Regions from separate parts of the Homo sapiens genome. Here region 2 is linked to region 1. Evidence: promoter capture Hi-C in 16 types of primary human blood cells and fetal thymus (Javierre and others, 2016). All regions are on one chromosome and are shown on one strand. Each heading gives the region's core, a stretch centred on a gene start or on the middle of the fragment in contact. The rest is flanking DNA. Distances are from core to core; before and after follow the strand shown.

Region 1 (2,700 bases), core at 65-2,564:
TTTTCATTTTTGTAGAGACTGAGTCTCACCATGTTACCCAGGTTTATTATTCTCATTTTTTAGATGAAGAGACTGAGGTCCAGAGAAGCTCAATGACTTGCCTAGTTTTACAAATCTCCTGCCATCACATACCCCTCAGCGTCCTTAATAAGAGGGAGGCCACCAACTATGTGCTGGGCACTGTGGTGGATGCTGGAGCTATAGGGTTGAGTATATAAGAAATGGTGTTGCTGGAGCAACTGTTGCTTGCTTACCTGACCTATCTGAGAATTAATTAGCAGGGGAACATATTTTTGTTTTCAGATTCAATATAAGAACTTGTGTGGGCAAAAATAAAGATCAGTAGTAATAACAGTAGTTCCCATTTGCTGACTGTACTGTCCTAAGTGCATATATATATACATACACACACGCATACCTATACTCCTCTAATACTCAAAATGATCCTGTTTATGTATTGTTAATATGCTCATTTTATTTTTAAATTTTTATTTATTTTTATTTTTATTTATTTTTGAGACGGAGTCTCATTCTGTCGCGGAGGCTGAAGTGCAGTGGTGCGATCTCAGCTCAGTGCGACCTCCGCCTCCCGGGTTCAAGTGATTCTCCTGCCTCAGCCTCCGGACTAGCTGGGATTACAGGCGCCCGCCTCCACGCCCAGCTAATTTTTGTATTTTTAGTAGAGATGGGGTTTCGCCATGTTGGCCAGGCTGGTCTCGTACTCCTGACCTTGAGTGATCCACCTGCCTCGGCCTCCCAAAGTGCTGGGATTACAGGCATGAGCCACCGCGCCGGGCTAATATGCTCATTTTAGTGAGGCAAAAATAGAGGCTCAGAGTCTGATTTGTACAAAACTACAGAGCAGTTAAGTGTCCTCTCAGATGTGTACCCTGATCTGGGTGACTCTAGGACTCTAGGTCTCAACTGTTACAACCAGTTAAGGGTTTGGGGAAGCACTGGGCCAAGAGTCAGGAAAATGGAAGCCACAGGTAGTGCAAGGTCTTGGGAATGGGACGTCTGGTCCAAGGATTCACGCGATGACTGGAACCCGAAGAGCCGGGGCCCGGTTTACGGCCGCCATGAAGCAACGCGCGCCGGTAGGTTTGGGAATCAGGGAGCCCTCTGAATAGGAGACTGAGTTGGGAGGGAAAGGGGCTTCGCTGGGGGAGCCTCGGCTTCTTCTGGGAGAAAATTCCCACGGCTACCTAGTGAGCCTGCAAACTGGTAGGCGCCGGCGTAGGCGCGCGGGCGGGGCCGGGGGCGGGGCCTGCGGGGCGTGGCGGGGCGGGCAGAGGGCGGGGCCTGCTTCTCCTCAGCTTCAGGCGGCTGCGACGAGCCCTCAGGCGAACCTCTCGGCTTTCCCGCGCGGCGCCGCCTCTTGCTGCGCCTCCGCCTCCTCCTCTGCTCCGCCACCGGCTTCCTCCTCCTGAGCAGTCAGCCCGCGCGCCGGCCGGCTCCGTTATGGCGACCCGCAGCCCTGGCGTCGTGGTGAGCAGCTCGGCCTGCCGGCCCTGGCCGGTTCAGGCCCACGCGGCAGGTGGCGGCCGGGCCCTGAGGCGCGGGATCCGCAGTGCGGGCTCGGGCGGCCGGGCCCAGGGAACCCCGCAGGCGGGGGCGGCCAGTTTCCCGGGTTCGGCTTTACGTCACGCGAGGGCGGCAGGGAGGACGGAATGGCGGGGTTTGGGGTGGGTCCCTCCTCGGGGGAGCCCTGGGAAAAGAGGACTGCGTGTGGGAAGAGAAGGTGGAAATGGCGTTTTGGTTGACATGTGCCGCCTGCGAGCGTGCTGCGGGGAGGGGCCGAGGGCAGATTCGGGAATGATGGCGCGGGGTGGGGGCGTGGGGGCTTTCTCGGGAGAGGCCCTTCCCTGGAAGTTTGGGGTGCGATGGTGAGGTTCTCGGGGCACCTCTGGAGGGGCCTCGGCACGGAAAGCGACCACCTGGGAGGGCGTGTGGGGACCAGGTTTTGCCTTTAGTTTTGCACACACTGTAGTTCATCTTTATGGAGATGCTCATGGCCTCATTGAAGCCCCACTACAGCTCTGGTAGCGGTAACCATGCGTATTTGACACACGAAGGAACTAGGGAAAAGGCATTAGGTCATTTCAAGCCGAAATTCACATGTGCTAGAATCCAGATTCCATGCTGACCGATGCCCCAGGATATAGAAAATGAGAATCTGGTCCTTACCTTCAAGAACATTCTTAACCGTAATCAGCCTCTGGTATCTTAGCTCCACCCTCACTGGTTTTTTCTTGTTTGTTGAACCGGCCAAGCTGCTGGCCTCCCTCCTCAACCGTTCTGATCATGCTTGCTAAAATAGTCAAAACCCCGGCCAGTTAAATATGCTTTAGCCTGCTTTATTATGATTATTTTTGTTGTTTTGGCAATGACCTGGTTACCTGTTGTTTCTCCCACTAAAACTTTTTAAGGGCAGGAATCACCGCCGTAACTCTAGCACTTAGCACAGTACTTGGCTTGTAAGAGGTCCTCGATGATGGTTTGTTGAATGAATACATTAAATAATTAACCACTTGAACCCTAAGAAAGAAGCGATTCTATTTCATATTAGGCATTGTAATGACTTAAGGTAAAGAGCAGTGCTATTAACGGAGTCTAACTGGGAATCCAGCTTGTTTGGGCTATTTACTAGTTGTGTGGCTGTGGGCAACTTACTTCACCTCTCTGGGCTTAAGTCATTTT
Region 2 (2,700 bases), core at 93-2,592, 1.1 Mb after region 1:
GTTGGCCAGGCTGGTCTCAAACTCCTGCCCTCAAATGATCCACCCACCTCGGCCTCCCAAAGTGCTGGAATTACAGGCATGAGCCACTGCGCCTGGCCAAAATATATAAAATATTATGTATGTATATGTCATCATCTCTCCTCAATGAAACTGCAAACTCATTGAAGTCCTGGATTCCACATTGTCAATAGTAATTGCCAGGAATACACAAGTCCAATTTTTAAAATTGTGTCATATGAAGTAGTCAATCAAGTGTGGTTGGCCACTTACTGAGTCTCTTCACAGAGCCAGACCTGAGAGTATCCGTAATTGTTACCCTAACCTCAGGGAGCTGCATTTTCCTCTACTGAAAATTGAATACAATGCCATCTGCCATAATTAATTCAAAGATTAAACAAGGCTACCGTGGGTGCCTGGCTCTTCATAGGCACTCAATAAATGTGAGTTGAGAGCCTGCCCCTGTGGTCCCAGCTACTTGAGAGGCTGAGATGGGAGGATCGCTTAAGCCCAGGAGCTGGACGCTGCAGGCAGCTATGATGGGGCCACTGCACTCCAGCCTGGGCGATCAAGCGAGATCCTCTTTATTTATTTATAAAAATAAATAAATAAATAAATATGTGAGTTGAATCACAATCTAGGTTTGCAAACCTCCATGTGTAAAGGCTGCGCAGAGGGAACAGTGGTGGAATTATCACAGGCAGGCCAATGTTTCAAAGAGCTTAGTGAAACTGAAGAAGCTTGTGCATACAAAAGGCCAGTTTAGGTAACTGTAACTGTGTTTAAGCTTTAGTTTCCTTTCTAAGTAGATATATGTGGAATGCAAGGCCAGCAACCAACTCACAAATACTGATCAAGACGGGGGAGGGATCTAAAGGAATGTGAGTACGTCCTGCCAGGAAAGAAGTTTGCTGCTTCTGAAATATTTTCGTCTTCGCCACTGGCAGGATTGATCGATTGCAGTTAGCGAAGAATTTTCTGTGCAAACTGTCCAAGCATCTGCTTCTGTACTTCTGTACAACTGTTGCTCAAATTCACTCTTCTTTTCGAATCACCATCTTTGAAGAGAGACAGAAAAATCCATTTAAACCACCCGAACTAATCATTCGAACTGCTTCCAAGTCCTTTAAAGGAGAATCCTAGCGAGGGTCCGTAACACTTCCCCTTACCCTCTGCCTGGGTTCAAACTTCAACTCCCAGGGTTCGCCCAAGTCCCTCCCCTAGTCCTGTCATCTAATGAATATGCAAATACCACATAATTGGCAGCCAATGGCATGGGTTCTGGTCACATGGTGCCGATGGTAGGTGAGCAGACAGAAGTTGTCAGTGAACAGAGACGGCGCTCAGTCTGGGGCGAGCGCTCTAGTGAGCGCGGACGGATGCTTAGGCAGTAGTCCTGGCAGCGGCAGTAGTGGTGGCAGCAGAAGAGAGGAAGGGGGAGGGCCCCGAGGGCTACACACGCTCACACTTTCAAGTTCCCTTGGAGGGAGAGGAGGTGGGGCTGCAGAAAGAGGAGGCCAGGAGCGGTCCCATCCGTCCCGTCCCGTCCCGTCTCCCCCTCTTCCTCTTGCTCCTTGCTCCCCGGCTCTGCGAGAGTTGAGGGTTCAGGTGGCCGTACGCGGCAGTGAGGGCAAGAGGGCCGGGAGAGTGGGGAGCGGAGGCAGGAGTGCGGGGGAAGATGCCCATCCTGCTGTTCCTCATAGACACGTCCGCCTCTATGAACCAGCGCACTGACCTGGGCACCTCTTATTTGGACATTGCCAAAGGCGCTGTGGAGTTATTCTTGAAGGTAAAGGGAGGGGAGGGGAGAGATGGGGAGAGCTCCCGAGGGATTTCAGGGTGTGGATTGAGGTGCTTCTGTAACGTTTGTATCGCCCTCCCCCCTCCTTTCCTACGCGACCCCCTCCGTCATCCCTTGCCCCGCAGCTGCGCGCCCGGGACCCGGCCAGCCGTGGAGACAGGTACATGCTGGTCACCTACGACGAACCCCCGTACTGCATCAAGGTAAAGGGGCTACGGGTGGGGGGACAGGCGGGAAGCGGGAGCAAGTCGGCGGGGGCTGCTTACCCCCCTGCCCCCGCCTAAGGCGGTCCTGCGTCGCCCGGCGGGGCGGGCGGCGAGGGGGTGCGCAGAGGGCGGGCGGAGTGGTGCCGTCGGCGGCTTCGGAGTAGCTGTCGCGCCTGGGGTCGGGGAGAGGGGACCGGGGAGGAGCAGCCCCGGGGAGAAACCGCAGGAGGGCCGAGCTCGTGGCGCGACAACCGCAGCCGCCTCGGAACATGGCGGACATTTTGCTTTTGTATGAGCCTGCGAGAGGGAGACTGAGGGCGCTGCTGAGATGGAAAGGAGGGAGGGGAGGGAGGAGCGGGGAAGGAGGGCCCGAAACCCGGAGGGAGGCTGCGAGGCGGGCCCGCCCCTTCGAGGCGCACCGCGCGAGGGTCGCCGCGCGGGGGGCCGGACGGAGCCTGCGACTCCGCCCCGAGGTCCTGCCGGCCGGGCGCGCGGGCTTTCCCGGAGCCTGGGCTCCTCCTCTGGCCCCTCCTTCCTCCCCCGGTCTTCCTCCCCCTCCTTGGGCTCTTCGCTGCATCTCCTCCTTCTCCCCCTCTTCCTCCTGGTCCCCTCCCCTTCCTGCTGAGAGCGTGGCAGAGCCAGCCGCCGGCCTTCAAAGACTAGACAACCGCCTTTGCACTCGTTGGCCTCTCACCA

The links. The method cuts DNA at HindIII sites, captures the fragments that hold promoters and counts their contacts. A CHiCAGO score of 5 or more calls a contact.
Region 2: a contact is called between the fragment with the promoter of INTS6L here and the fragment with the promoter of HPRT1 in region 1, in 1 of 17 cell types (neutrophils). The highest score is 6.2, in neutrophils.

The regions. Positions count from the first base shown.
Region 1 is chrX:134,458,851-134,461,550 of GRCh38, forward strand. It overlaps HPRT1 (hypoxanthine phosphoribosyltransferase 1), which reads left to right and starts at 1,315. Exons shown (of 9, transcript NM_000194.3): 1 at 1,315-1,488. The coding sequence starts at 1,462. RefSeq lists silencers at 1,187-1,306, 1,407-1,586. The HindIII fragment of the contact is 6,801 bases long and covers 1-2,700 here.
Region 2 is chrX:135,519,318-135,522,017 of GRCh38, forward strand. It overlaps INTS6L (integrator complex subunit 6 like), which reads left to right and starts at 1,343. Exons shown (of 18, transcript NM_001351601.3): 1 at 1,343-1,786; 2 at 1,924-2,001. The coding sequence starts at 1,676. INTS6L-AS1 (INTS6L antisense RNA 1) reads right to left here and starts at 1,357. Exons shown (of 2, transcript NR_046740.1): 1 at 1,250-1,357; 2 at 766-1,055. RefSeq lists enhancers at 1,497-1,576, 1,607-1,666 and silencers at 1,917-2,186, 2,247-2,446. The HindIII fragment of the contact is 2,771 bases long and covers 783-2,700 here.